2 separate regions of the Homo sapiens genome follow, and region 2 is linked to region 1. Evidence: promoter capture Hi-C in human tissues and cell types (Jung and others, 2019). All regions are on one chromosome and are shown on one strand. The core of a region is centred on a gene start or on the middle of the fragment in contact, and the rest is flanking DNA. Distances in the headings are between cores, read along the strand shown. Region 1 holds the start of ACTBL2 (actin beta like 2). Region 2 has its middle 46 kb from the start of RMEL3.

Evidence for each region. The method cuts DNA at HindIII sites, captures the fragments that hold promoters and counts their contacts. A contact is called where the count stands out against the background at its distance.
Region 2: a fragment that was not itself captured here is called in contact with the fragment with the promoter of ACTBL2 in region 1 in 2 of the 25 tissues and cell types used here (dorsolateral prefrontal cortex and mesenchymal stem cells).

The regions. Positions count from the first base shown.
Region 1 is chr5:57,479,437-57,486,614 of GRCh38, reverse strand. It overlaps ACTBL2 (actin beta like 2), which reads left to right and starts at 3,804. Exons shown (of 1, transcript NM_001017992.4): 1 at 3,804-6,597. The coding sequence starts at 3,908. The coding sequence ends at 5,038. The region is part of intron 1 of RMEL3 (enriched in melanoma 3); the gene reads right to left. The HindIII fragment of the contact is 3,416 bases long and covers 2,298-5,713 here.
Region 2 is chr5:57,345,682-57,352,859 of GRCh38, reverse strand. No RefSeq gene overlaps it. Among named protein-coding and RNA genes, the nearest start is that of RMEL3, 46 kb to the left of the region's middle. The HindIII fragment of the contact is 5,938 bases long and covers 1,325-7,178 here.

The DNA.
Region 1 (7,178 bases), core at 2,555-5,054:
GATAAACATGGTATCTTACAAACTGCAAATAATCTCCAGAGAGATTATTTGGTATCGTAAGATACCATGTTTAAGCCATTTCATCAATATGAAATATAAACCTTAGGCAGTATTTAACCACAAAATAAATAAGCTTTTTAACTTTTAAGAAGTGGTCAGCTATATCTAGCTATGAATGAACAGATGAGTATATAATGAAAACAAATCACACTGCTTACAACATTCATGTATCTATTTCTGAAACACATTACAAATCTCCACTAAGAGCAGAGTACAGTTGAAAGAGATTCTCAGAGCATCACCACACTAGAGAGGTAGACGTGTGCAAAATCAGCCAAGGATAGAAGGAAAGAGGGTGTGGTACACAAGGAAGGAACCAAGTGAAGACAGAGAGGCAGGCAGCTGACCTCCATGTACTAAATTGCATCCCTAGGGGGGAGGCTGAACGAGGCCTCATTAAAATGCATAATCTCAGCAGTTCAGTTAAACAGATGAGAGCCTAGACAGGAGATGATCACTAAGACAGGGCCTCCATGACCCATGGGTAAGAGCCTCTTCTTAGATCTCATGTACTACGGAGAGAAAGCAACACCCAATTCTGGAGTTCCTCTTCCTTCCACATGCCTGTGAAGATTCAGACTCTTGTTGTAAGCCTCTAAACTCTTGCTGATTCTGTGTAGAGACCTAGTTCCAAATACATAGTTGATTCTCTGATTTCATCCAAGTTGTTGGTGCTGCTGTAATACTGCCTCCGTTGGCTGCTGGCAGCCTCCTAGTTCCAAACACATAATTGATTCTCTGGTTTCATCCAAGCTGTGATGCTCATGCCTGCAATATTACCTCCACTGGCCAGTGACAGCCTCCTGCCCATCCTCTGAGACTCAGCCCAGGGGTCATCTCCTTTGGCCTCTCCTTCTCTTTGCCCTGACCTCAGGTTCAGGGGCCCCTCATTCCACCTCTATGTCTCCCTGAGCTCCTTCTCTCATCTCCCGTGTTGTATACCTGTTATCTGTGTATTTGGGAGTGACATTCAAGATCTTTAACAACTGGAACAGCGCTGGCAGAGCCCTATCAGAACATAAGCCGGCTGTATCATACCAGTGCCAAACGGCCACCTGTCGGCCTGGGGTAAGGTGACTTTCACCCACAAGACAGTGAACTCTTTAAAAATAGGGCTGTGTTTTATTCATTGATATATCACCAGTGCCCAGAACATAGGAGATGTTTAATAAATGTTTGCGGATTGCTTGAAAAGTCTAAGGTTGACAAAGACAAGGCAAGGAGACACGGTAGCTTCCACCAGTTGTCTTCATATTTAATGCCCATACTTAAACCTCACTCTAGTTTCGTGTATCTGCATGATAGTCAAACTAGGCAAAATGTAAAAGAAAAAGAATATTCTGGGCTTCCATGAGTGAACCTTGAAGGGCCCTAAAGGTTTAGGTAATTAATTAAACATTTGTAAATTCTGGTCAGTTACAAAGTCTGTTACCTCCAAGAACAGTACTCCCTACTCACAGCTTCCAGAGCCCAGTATTTGTAAACCCATCTTTCTATGTTTTACTCAACACAAATTCTTACTACTTTTTAAAAATTTAACCAACTCAACAGATGACATTTTTAATGGCTGTTGAATTGTGATAAGCACCTCTTGCATTATTGAGAGTTAATTAGAAGAGCATAAGCTTATTTTAAGAATACATAACTGATGAAATTTGCTCCTGGGACACCGGAATTAAAGCAGGCTAGACAGTCTCTAGCAAAATCACACATCAGCCACACTCTCAAGGCATCAGTTATGCTGTGTGGACTCAGTACCAAATATCCCTTAGTTGAAGGTGATTCTAAGGACAGCACTCTAGTAAGTGTAGGATCTAAGGCTGCACTTGGTACTATGTGGGCTCCTCCACTAACATTTCCACCAACTTGGCTTTGTTTTATATTCCAGACCGGAGCATTCATAAATGGGGACTTGTGCTAAATACAATGTGTATTTCATTTTTTCCATTTTGTAAAATGTGCATGTAGTTTGTTATGGGATTTTAAAAAATTCCCAGAAGCACCATCCTATAGCAATAAAATGTTGTTTTAATCAAAAGCTTGGTTGTACTACATAACAAGGAAGTTCATAAAACCATTCAGTGTGAAGGTTTTTAACACTGTTGAAGAAGGAATTTTGCAGTTACAGAAAAGATTAAAGGAAAGGACTGTTTTGGTGAGCCCTAAAGCAAAACCATGGATCTTGTGATGAAACATACATTCTGCCATGACTGATTGTCACCAGAAAGGTTTTGAAGGCATATTACAGCACTGGATAAAATAAATCTATATCAAGCTATAGACAAAGAAGAGGGCTGGATGCTCACAGCTTGATGCTACACCATGACTCTCCAAGAGGCTCACTGGGCAAAGACTCAGGTTAGTTCTCCTGGCCTTGAGCTGGAGGGTGTTTTTTGTCCAGTAAATAGGGGCTGTGCTACCTCTTACAAAGCAAGCTTTATTGGGTAAATGAATGAATGATGAACCCAAATAAAGATTATTTTGGAGAACTCAGATGTAGACATGGAAAATTTCTTTGCTTTACAAGAGCTCACAAAGATAATTATATTCTATTCGCCTAACACATAGGGGAGCAGAAGTAATGAGCTTTCTTAAATGCTATTTCTCTGTAACACATTGCTGATGTCCTACATTTTACCATCATACACATCTTTTCAGGTAGTCTGTATTTCTATATGAAACATGGAACCCAAACAAATTGTTGCTATGAAGTGATCAGGGTGTAATATATCTTGAAATGGAAGGAAAGCTAGTATAATTCTAATTGTATAGATTTTAATAACTACATAGAGGTTTAATGTTATAATATAGTATATGTATCTTGAAGATCAAAATGTTTTAAGGATTAGTTTAAATATATAATTTTTCAAATTTGTCTTATCACTTCATTTTGTCCATTGTTGCAGAACTCAAGAGTTGTTGCAAATAAATAAATTTTTATAACCTGCATCTTAATAAATCATGCAAAATAGTTGACATTCAGTCATTATACAATTAACATGGACCCAATGAACCTGGTTCTATGAACAATGTCTAGACACAGTAAATGTTTAATGAAATTTGGTTGTTAGAAATTTATATCAGAAAAAAGTATCTATATGGGTTAACTTTAGCAATCATTCTATTCCTTTCGCTTGATCTCTGATGGATTAGAAGTCTATTAAATATCTCTACATTTTGCTTGACACAAGTGCATTGTAATTACAGCCATCAGGCCATCCTTAGCCATTTATTATTTTCATTTACTAAAACAGTCTCTACGATGATGACACCCTGTGGGATTAGGAATCTAATGGAAACAAAAATCTTGAAAAAGTGAAGATTGCAGGGTAAGACCCCTCATCAGAACAGTATCTTAAGAATGAAAAGGTAAGCTAGTGTAGGAAAAGTGAATCCTCAGGGACGCTAAGGAGGGAGCCTTCCTCCCAGCAGTGTTGCCATACCTAGCACCAGCTTTCTTTCATCTTGCTTTTATATCCCCCACTGCATCATCATAGTTATCTAGAGACCTCACCAGGCAGGCTGACGGTCATGTGTGGGTTGCCTAATTACAGGAACCTGAGATTTGACCACTTGGCAGCCAATTTTCTCTTTATGTAGAAAGATCTAATTGTTTATGTAATCATCACCATCATTAATACCTCAGAGATGACCTCATCCAGAAATGCTGGGAACTGGTGGAGTAGGACATGGGCGGAGTCAGTGTGTTCCTTTAAATACCTGTGGTCCCGGTGCAGCCTCCCGTGTCTGAAAGCATTTCTGGAGTGTTTTAGGCCTGTTCACTTTCTCTTACTCACTGTCTATTCACTTGTCCTGTTCACTCGTCTGGAAGATCTCAGCCAGCACCATGACTGACAATGAGCTGTCTGCCTTGGTAGTGGATAATGGGTCAGGGATGTGCAAGGCAGGCTTTGGTGGTGACGATGCCCCCCGGGCTGTGTTCCCCTCCATGATAGGGCGTCCTCGACACCAGGGCGTTATGGTAGGCATGGGCCAGAAGGACTGCTACGTGGGAGATGAGGCTCAGAGCAAGAGAGGCGTCCTGACCCTGAAGTATCCTATCGAGCATGGAGTGGTCACCAACTGGGACGATATGGAAAAGATCTGGTACCACACATTCTACAATGAGCTCCGTGTGGCACCAGATGAGCATCCCATCCTCCTCACCGAGGCACCCCTGAACCCCAAGATCAACCGGGAAAAGATGACTCAGATCATGTTCGAGGCTTTCAACACACCAGCCATGTATGTCGCCATCCAGGCTGTGCTGTCCCTCTATGCCTCAGGACGGACCACAGGCATCGTGATGGATTCTGGGGATGGGGTCACTCACATCGTGCCCATCTATGAAGGTTATGCCCTGCCTCATGCCATTCTACGCCTGGATCTGGCAGGGAGAGACCTGACTGATTACCTCATGAAGATCCTGACAGAGCGAGGCTATAACTTCACCACCACTGCTGAGCGGGAGATTGTGCGAGATGTCAAAGAGAAGCTGTGCTACGTAGCCCTGGACTTTGAGCAGGAGATGGTCAGGGCAGCCGCATCCTCCTCACCGGAACGGAGCTATGAACTTCCTGATGGGCAGGTGATCACCATTGGGAATGAACGCTTCCGATGCCCTGAAGCCATTTTCCAGCCTTCCTTTCTGGGCATTGAGTCCAGTGGGATCCATGAGACAACCTTCAACTCTATCATGAAGTGCGATGTGGATATTCGCAAGGATCTCTATGCCAACACCGTGTTATCTGGAGGGAGCACCATGTACCCAGGCATTGCTGACAGGATGCAGAAAGAAATCATAACCCTGGCACCCAGCACCATGAAAATCAAGATCATAGCTCCCCCAGAGCGGAAGTATTCTGTTTGGATTGGGGGCTCCATCCTTGCCAGCCTGTCCACATTCCAGCAGATGTGGATCAGTAAGCAGGAATATGATGAGGCTGGTCCTCCTATCGTTCACAGAAAATGTTTCTGAATGGGCTTCCATATTAGTGGGCTTACATTTTCCCTTTTCCTAGGTCACAGTGATGGTACTGCTTTTATCCGCTTTCAGTAGAATCGAGGTAAATACGTCACTCTTCCTAGTGTAAACCAGCAAACCCATCTCTCCATCCAAGTAACCTGGGCTCTTACCCAGATAACCACATCCGGTTCTCCATCAAGTGAAGGTGAATTCTAATACCATATTCCTTTTTCTTTGCCTATACTGTTCAAAGATAGGTAGGCCAGCTTAAATACATATAAGTGACAAGGAGTAAAATCACGAGAAATGTCATTTCAGAATGGATAACTATAATTATCAAGCTTTAAAACTTAGTTCTCGCTAAAATATTTAACAAGAACAGGCTGTATAAACTTGTTTAAAAAAAAAAGGTGCGTATGCATTTAGCAGCCGTGTCTTACTAGTTAAGTATCTTTGTTTTGTTTACTTCTTTGTATGGAGATAATGAATTATAAAGTTCAATAATATCCATATATACATAAGCACCAGGGAAATAAAATATATTGTGAAATATGCTGATGTATCTAGCTATCTGAACAGCTAATGTGAATTTCTTTACTCCCAAAAGTCATCGTTGTACTAGGTACATATTTTAATTGTTTCCCTTACTAAATAAGCATAATGAGACAGCCACCATTCCATTAATGTTTATAAATCATCTAAATTTTCAGCTCATAGTGGAGTTCTGCTGGTCAAATTATATTTTAATATCTTTCTTACTGAACCTTCTCATACCAAAACTACAGACAATGTCTAATTCTTAAGAGAGATAGATATTATAATATCAAATTAATGTCATTATGGTACAATTTGACAGAGGTAATTTTATTTCTATTTCTTAGTGTAATAGCACATCTTAAATAATTTCTGTAGACCAGGATTACAGATACTTCTCTTGTGCAAGGATTTCACTGTGGGAAAATATAGCTGCAGCATCTTTATTAATTATACATTTTACTACCAGTATACTAACACAGTTTTATCCTTGGAAAGCTTTTAGAATAATTCTACTTTATTATGTCCAGTAACTAGCAATACTTATTTATGCAAAGTGTCTCTGAGATACTAACATCTTTGAAAATATCAATGTATGTTCCTATAATGTCTAAAATATTTTAGTTACTCCAGTGATGATTTATTAACCAATTTTAAGTACCAGTATGTTTATTCCAATCTATGCAGTGATTTCTGAATATTTGGATATCAGCATTATTTGTATTTTTCAGGGTAATTTCTGAAAATTTAAAATATTTATTTGGATTGCTTATTCAGGCATTATAAGGTACTCTGGAGGAAGGAATCACTTCTCTTTTTTTCTTAGTTGGGAAACTTGTACTTATGTTATAAATCTTTAAAATGGAATCAGTAAGAATTTTTTGTTTAAGGTAATACTTTTCAAATAATTTGATTATTCCTTATTGGCTTTATCTGACAACATAATCTTTAAAATGCATGTAACCAAAATTAATCTCCAAAAACACTTTATTTTATATAACTTGCTTTCAGTACATTAAAATTGCTTCATACTTGTATACTTAGATTTCCTGTTATTTCTCCTCAACCATTCCCTTAGAATTAGAGAATGATCCAGATAGCATCTCTTTTTATATGTGTGACCTATTCATCTGTATGTTACAATTTTGCACCTCATACATTTAATCATGTAAACATTAAAAGGCAAATTTTAAAAAAAGGATAGCTAGCCATTTAACATTATATAGATGTCTCATAATCTAAATTTTAAAGCTGGGTTTTACTGGATGAACTGATCTTCAGGTAATTAATAGGCAGAGACAACATCAACAATAATAATCATAATATTTTGGATTTATATGCTGCAATGCATTCCATTTGCAGAGTGAGTAGTTCTCACAAACATTCTGACCTGCATTCTGAATTACCAAAAAAAAAAAAATATGACTTCCCACCCACAGACTATAAATGGGACAGGTAATGTGAACTTACAAGAGAGTGAGCTATAGAGCCCCACAACATTAGGTGAAAATATGAGCCCCATAATGCAAACTACGCATTATAAATCTTGAATTACTGTGGTAATTTAAGAGTTTATTATATATAAAATCTACAATTTCTAGATAACAAGTTGGTAAAA
Region 2 (7,178 bases), core at 3,044-5,543, 130 kb after region 1:
ATATAGATCAATGGAACAGAACAGAGCCCTCAGAAATAACGCCGCATATCTACAACTATCTGATCTTTGACAAACCTGAGAAAAACAAGCAATGGGGAAAGCATTCCCTATTTAATAAATGGTGCTGGGAAAACTGGCTAGCCATATGTAGAAAGCTGAAACTGGATCCCTTCCTTACACCTTATACAAAAATCAATTCAAGATGGATTAAAGACTTAAATGTTAGACCTAAAACCATAAAAACCCTAGAAGAAAACCTAGGCATTACCATTCAGGACATAGGCATGGGCAAGGACTTCATGTCTAAAACACCAAAAGCAATGGCAACCAAAGCCAAAATTGACAAATGGGATCTAATTAAACTAAAGAGCTTCTGCACAGCAAAAGAAACTACCATCAGAGTGAACAGGCAATCTACAAAATGGGAGAAAATTTTCGCAACCTATTCATCTGACAAAGGGCTAATATCCAGAATCTACAATGAACTCAAACAAATTTACAAGAAAAAAACAAACAACCCCATCAAAAAGTGGGCGAGGGACATGAACAGACACTTCTCAAAAGAAGACATTTATGCAGCCAAAAGACACATGAAAAAATGCTCATCATCACTGGCCATCAGAGAAATGCAAATCAAAACCACAATGAGATACCATCTCACACCAGTTAGAATGGCAATCATTAACAAGTCAGGAAACAACAGGTGCTGGAGAGGATGTGGAGAAATAGGAACACTTTTACACTGTTGGTGGGACTGTAAACTAGTTCAACCATTGTGGAAGTCAGTGTGGTGATTCCTCAGGGATCTAGAACTGGAAACACCATTTGACCCAGCCATCCCATTACTGGGTATATACCCAAAGGACTATAAATCATGCTGCTGTAAAGACACATGCACACATATGTTTATTGCGGCATTATTCACAATAGCAAAGACTTGGAACCAACCCAAATGTCCAACAATGATAGACTGGATTAAGAAAATGTGGCACATATACACCATGGAATACCATGCAGCCATAAAAAATGATGAGTTCATGTCCTTTTTAGGGACATGGATGAAATTGGAAATCATCATTCTCAGTAAACTATCACAAGAACAAAAAACCAAACACCGCATATTCTCACTCATAGGTGGTAATTGAACAATGAGATCACATGGACACAGGAAGGGGAATATCACACTCTGGGGACTGTTGTGGGGTGGGGGGAGGGGGGAGGGATAGCACTGGGAGATATACCTAATGCTAGATGACGAGTTAGTGGGTGCAGTGCACCAGCATGGCACATGTATACATATGTAACTAACCTGCACACTGTGCACATGTACCCTAAAACTTAAAATATGATTAAAAAAAATAAAATAAAATAAAAATAATAGTAAAATAAAGAAAGAAAGAAAGAAAATAAGTCTAATGCCATTAGTCATTAGGGAAATGCAAATTTAAATCATAATGGGATATCACTACATATACATCTATCAGAATAAAAATTAGTGACAACACCAAATGCTGGGGATGATACAGAGAAACTGAGTCACTCCTACATTGCTGGGAATATGGAATGGTACAGCCACCCTGAAAACAGTTTGGCAGTTTCTTATATAACCAAACCTGCAAAATACCATATGACCCATAATTTGTATCCTTGGGCATTTATCCCAGAGAAATAAAAACTTATATTCACACAACACCTACACACGAATATTTATAGCAGCCTTATTAGTAATAGCTGAAATCTGGAAACAGCCCAAGTGTCCTTCAATGAGTGAATAAACTGCAGTATGTGTGGTATAGTGCAAAATACTACTCAGTATTTTTTTTAAATGAATGATTGATACAAGCAACAACTTGGATGAATCTCCAGAGATTATGCTAAATTAAAAAGCCAATCCCAAAAGATTACCTACTGTATGATTCCATTTAATAACATTCCCCAACTGACAAAATTATATAAGTGGAAACCAGATTAGTCGTTGCCAGGCACTATGGAAGGTGGAGGGAGGCAGTGAGAGGTGAGCATGACAGGAGAACACAGGGGTGCTCGTAGGGATGGACTATTCCATATCTCAACTGTGGTGGTGGATACACAGACCTACACATATGATAAAATTGCATAAAACCGTCAGAAGTATTTAAACCAGAGCAACTCCATCTTGAATAGGAACTGGACAAAATGAGGCTGAGACCTACTAAGCTGCATTCCCAGGAGGTTAAGGTGTTCTTAGTCACAAGGTGAGATAGGAGGTCAGCACAAGATAAGGTCATAAAAACCTTGCTGATAAAACAGGTTGCAGTCAAGAAGCCGGCTAAAACCCACCAAAGGCAAGATGGCAATGACAGTGACCTCTGGTCATCCTCATTGCTACACTCACATCTGTGCCAGGACAGTTTACAAATGCCATGGCAACATCAGAAAGTTACCCTCCATGGTCTAAAAAGGGGAGGCATGAAAAATCCACCCCTTATTTAGCATATAATCAAGATAATACCATAAAAATGTGCAACCAGCAGCCCACGGGGCTGCTCTGCATATGGAGTAGCCATTCTTTTATTCCCTTACTTTTTTAATAAACTTGCTTTCACTTTAAAAAAAAAAAAGAAAAATAATGCTGGTAAAATCATAATGAAAATTGAAAATAATGGATAATTTTAACTGTCCAGAAGATAAAATTGATTAAGGCATTGAGGTAGCTTTACAGAATTAGCTCCACAAAGTATGTGGTCACGAAATGTTATCAAAATCGCTGTAATGCTGTTTAAAAGTTTACATTCACAAATACAGAAAAGGAACATCTATGGAGTCAAATTAGCGGGATAAAAACATATATTTGATTGAAACTGTGTAATTCACATAGCCTTCCCTTCCAGGTAGTTTCTTGATCTCTCAGAATGGCCTACTGCTTCGCTAACCTTTTTTTTATTTTTAAAGCAATTACCTCCTTGTACTGAAATTGCCACCAGAATGTAAGCCCCTCAAGAGCAAAGTGGTTTTGTTCATCTTTGCATCCACAATGCCTAATGCAGTGCTTAGCCCTTAGTAAACGCTCAGTGATTGCCCGACAAAAACGAACTCAGTGAGCCAACACCCGATTAAGACTTCTCAAATTGGAATGTGCATCAGAATCACCTAGGGAACTTCTTTCACATACAGATTCAAAGACCCCACTCTCAGAGATTTCTGAATCACTGGCTGGAGCCCAAAGTGATTTTAAGGCAGGTGTTCTAAAAACCATATTTTGAGAAACACAGGACTAGGACAAAAAGAGTGGTAACTCTGGAGTATCTACCATACATATCAGTTAAGACGAATGCTTTCCACTGTAAGTAACAGAAAGCCTGACCTACTGAAGCAAGGAGTCTGTAATATTTAGGTTTTGGCACTGGTTCAGCAGTTCATGGATATTAAGATTGGCATCTCTGAGATTATCTTGGCTTCTTGTTTGCTTGTCACCTCATGGTTGATAAATGCCTGCCACAGTTCCAGACATAACATATGTTCAAGGCAAGAAGAGGAGCAAGCAGTGCAGCTTGCAACTGTCCCTTTCATGGGGAGAGTTTCACTTATGTTTCATTGGCTAACTGTAAATAGCCATCACCAGCTGCAAGGGCAAACAAATGGGTAAATGTTAGCTTGTCTTGCCTCTGTGGTGAAAAGCTTGTGGAAAAAAAGGGATAGAGAATGACTGCCAGTTTAGCCAAAGAACCTCTGCCGTATTGTAGTCCCCAGCAATTCTTCATCCACCGAGTTCACCAAAGAATAATCCTCCTAACTGGATAGAAAGAGTCTATTACTATTCCTAACTTACAGAAGAAGAAACAGGTACAGATAAGGTAAGTAGCTTTCCCAAAGTCACTCAGCTGATAAGTGACAGAGTCAAATCCGGGCAGTTTAGTTTCAGAATCCATGCTCTTAACCCCTGAATTCCATGAATTTAGAACTAAACTCACGGTGATTGAGTCTCTAAGTAGCTGTGTCCAGCGCAGCTGTTGTCAACTTTCATTGCACTGTAACATCTCCTAGTAAAACAGACCTTCAAATACCTTCAAATACCAAAAATATAAAGGTACATTTATCTTTATACCTCTCTTTGAAATGCAGCCCCAGGATAGGGCAACATTTTTAATATGCATTAAAATTCAAAACTTGTCCTACTGCCTGGTTTATTTTGGGTCTGGTTATCTTTCATCCTACACCTTGGCACGTGAACCCTGTCCAAACTGCAAGCATGCCAAGGAAGTGTTGCAAATGAGATCCCAAGACGACTGTAGGCTTGTCCTTATTATAGCCTGTCTTCCAAACTGGAGGACATATTCAAATTCTCAGTAACACTTAGTCCCTGAGGTCCCTCTAACAATGAAAGCTATTTATTCCAACTAGGCTGTATTCAGGAAGTTCAAACGTCCAAAAAAGATAACTTTTCCCTGGAGCTATGCACATGGCAATGAAAATTAAACAAGGCAAAATTATAAAAATAAGATTTACCTCCTTTAGAGAGCTTGAAAAGTTTTCCCTTCCCTAATTGTAGCTAAATGACATTATCTCCAAATTATTTCTGTGTTATGGAAATTGTAACATTAAGAATCAGGAATGTGGCTGGGCGTGGTGGCTCACACCTGTAATCCCAGCACTTTGGGATACCAAGGTAGGCAGATCACCTGAGGTCAGGAGTTTGAGACCAGCCTGACCAATATGGTGATACACCATCTCTACTAAAAATACAAAAATTAGTCTGACGGGGTGGTGCTTGCCTGTAGTCCCAGCTACTCAGGAGGCTGAGGCAGGAGGACCGCTTGAACCCAGGAGGTGGAGGTTGCAGTGAACCAAGATCACACCACTGCACTCTAGCCAAGTGAGATTCCATCTCAAAAAAATAAAAAAAGAATCAGGAATGCATGCCATTGTTTTTTATCGTAGAAAAGGAAGAGTTGCTACACATTTTTTTTAACTAAAAATAACTTTCTGTACAGATTATTTCATCACAAACCCTTGAGTCACGAGTTTACCCATACAATAAACCTGCCCATGTACCTCTGAAACTAAAATAAAAGTATTTTTTAAATAAATAATGTGTCCCCCAAAAGTTCATGTGTTGGAAGCTTGATCCCCAATGCAGCAGTGTTGAGAGGTGGAACACTCGGGAGGTGATTGGATTATGTGGACTCTGTCTTCACCAGTTGATTGATCCATTCATGAATTAATGGATTAGTGGGTTGATATGTGAATGGGTTATCACAGGAGTGGACTGGTTATCAAGAGGGTGAGTCCACTGTAAAGCCAGTGTGGCTGCCTATCATAAGTCCCCTCACCATGTGATGCACTGTACCATCTCAGGACTCTTCAGAAGGTCCCCACCAGCAGGAGACCCTCCAGATGCAGCCCCTTGACCCTGGAATTTCCAGCCTCCAAAACTGTAAAAAATAAATTTCTTTTCTTTATTAAAAAAATGAAAACAACTTTATTATTTTCTTATAACAAAAGTAATGTATATGTATTGTAGAAAATTTAACACAAAAGAGTAAAAAAGAATAAATATTTTTAAATCCACAATCGCCACTGTGAATACCTGCTCATTTGCCCTCTACTTGTTCTGAGAAAAGGGCAGAGCAAATACAGTTGGCACTCATTCTGAACAACAAGAAAAGGCTAGGACTGAGGTAGAGACCATTTGATGTGGGCCAGTGGGTCATAGCATCCAGATCATCATCATGACTGAGCCAAATAAGGTGAACATATGGTTGTTTTCTGGCATATTCTAATCATTAGGAGTAGAATGGACATTACCTTATCATCCACCATGCTGCCTATGGTCCTTATGTCAGGTGAACTTGCCAAAATGTCACTTCAGGCACACAGTATCAATACTCATCAGCTATTGTCAGGGTGGAAGCCTGATGAGCCAAGTATACTGGAACCAGCAAGAGAAACCCCCTTCCTCCAGCAACGCCCCTCCAGGGCTCTCTGTTAACAAAGCTCAGCATCGTCATGTTTGCTGCAGAGGAGAAATGCTAAAAAGGGTCCAGGTTCATTATGTCAGAGCAGGTAATGAAGGGCTCATATGGAACTGAGAAGCAATAAGTTGATAACTTACACAAACACCCTTCAGATGTTTGTAGAATTTGAGTCTCTTTTTCATGTTTCTGTTGTTATTGTTGTTTTAATGAAAACCTTTCTATGTCTACAAAGATTTTCATTGTCAAACACTTCTCCCAGGCTCGTTTCACAATCCTCAAAGCCGTAGGGTCATCTCTAGCCCTTGAAATGTGAGTGTATTTTATCTTGAAGTATGTGGATTCCAACTACCTCCTCCCACTTCCACCACTCCCACCCTGGTCCAAGCCCTGGTTGTCTCTCACCTAAATTGTTGCAATAGCCATCTGACTCATCTCCCTGCTTCTACTCTTGCCATTTTGTCCCCTAGAAACTAAATCAGTTTATTATGTTCATCATCCACTCAAAGCCCTCCAGTGGCTCCCAATTTCACTCAGAGTAAAACCCAAAGTCTTACAATGGCCTACTGAGGCCAGTAATGATCTTCCCTCACCCCACTAGAATATAATCTCCGAGAAAGCAGAGATTTTTGTCAGTTTTATCTATTTCCATGTTTCTAGTTCCTAAAACAATGCCTGGCTCATAGTAGATATATTTGTTTAATAGGCAAATGTCCCATGCCTAGAACTGCCTCACCTCTGAACTTCTCATTTGTGAAGTCATACCTGTCTTTATCAAAGCACTCGACTTGAATAAAGATACTGTGTTACTTGTAGCCCATTGTATTCTAATTGGTAAAATGAACATCAAATATACTATTCTATGTAATCCCAGGAAATCACCCAAGTAGAATTTACTAGATGCCATTGTTCTCTATAAAAATAGGTAGAAAAAGAAAGAAAAGAAAAAAAAACATTAGTTTGACCCAAAAAGCTTTCTAGTATTTGGCCATTAGATACTTAATTTTCCAATAGGAGGTGTTTTCTATAGCCTGGAGCCATTACTGAAGAGTTCAGTGTCACAAAGCAAGGTAAGCAAAGAACTAATGGAACAGAGTTTTAAGTATTCAGACAACAAATCTTTTTCTTTCCTTTGCTTCTCATTCAAATACTCACTTCTACTTCACCTAAAACATTTCTCTTAAAGTTATATGATACTTTCATTATAAATAAATGACAATAGATATT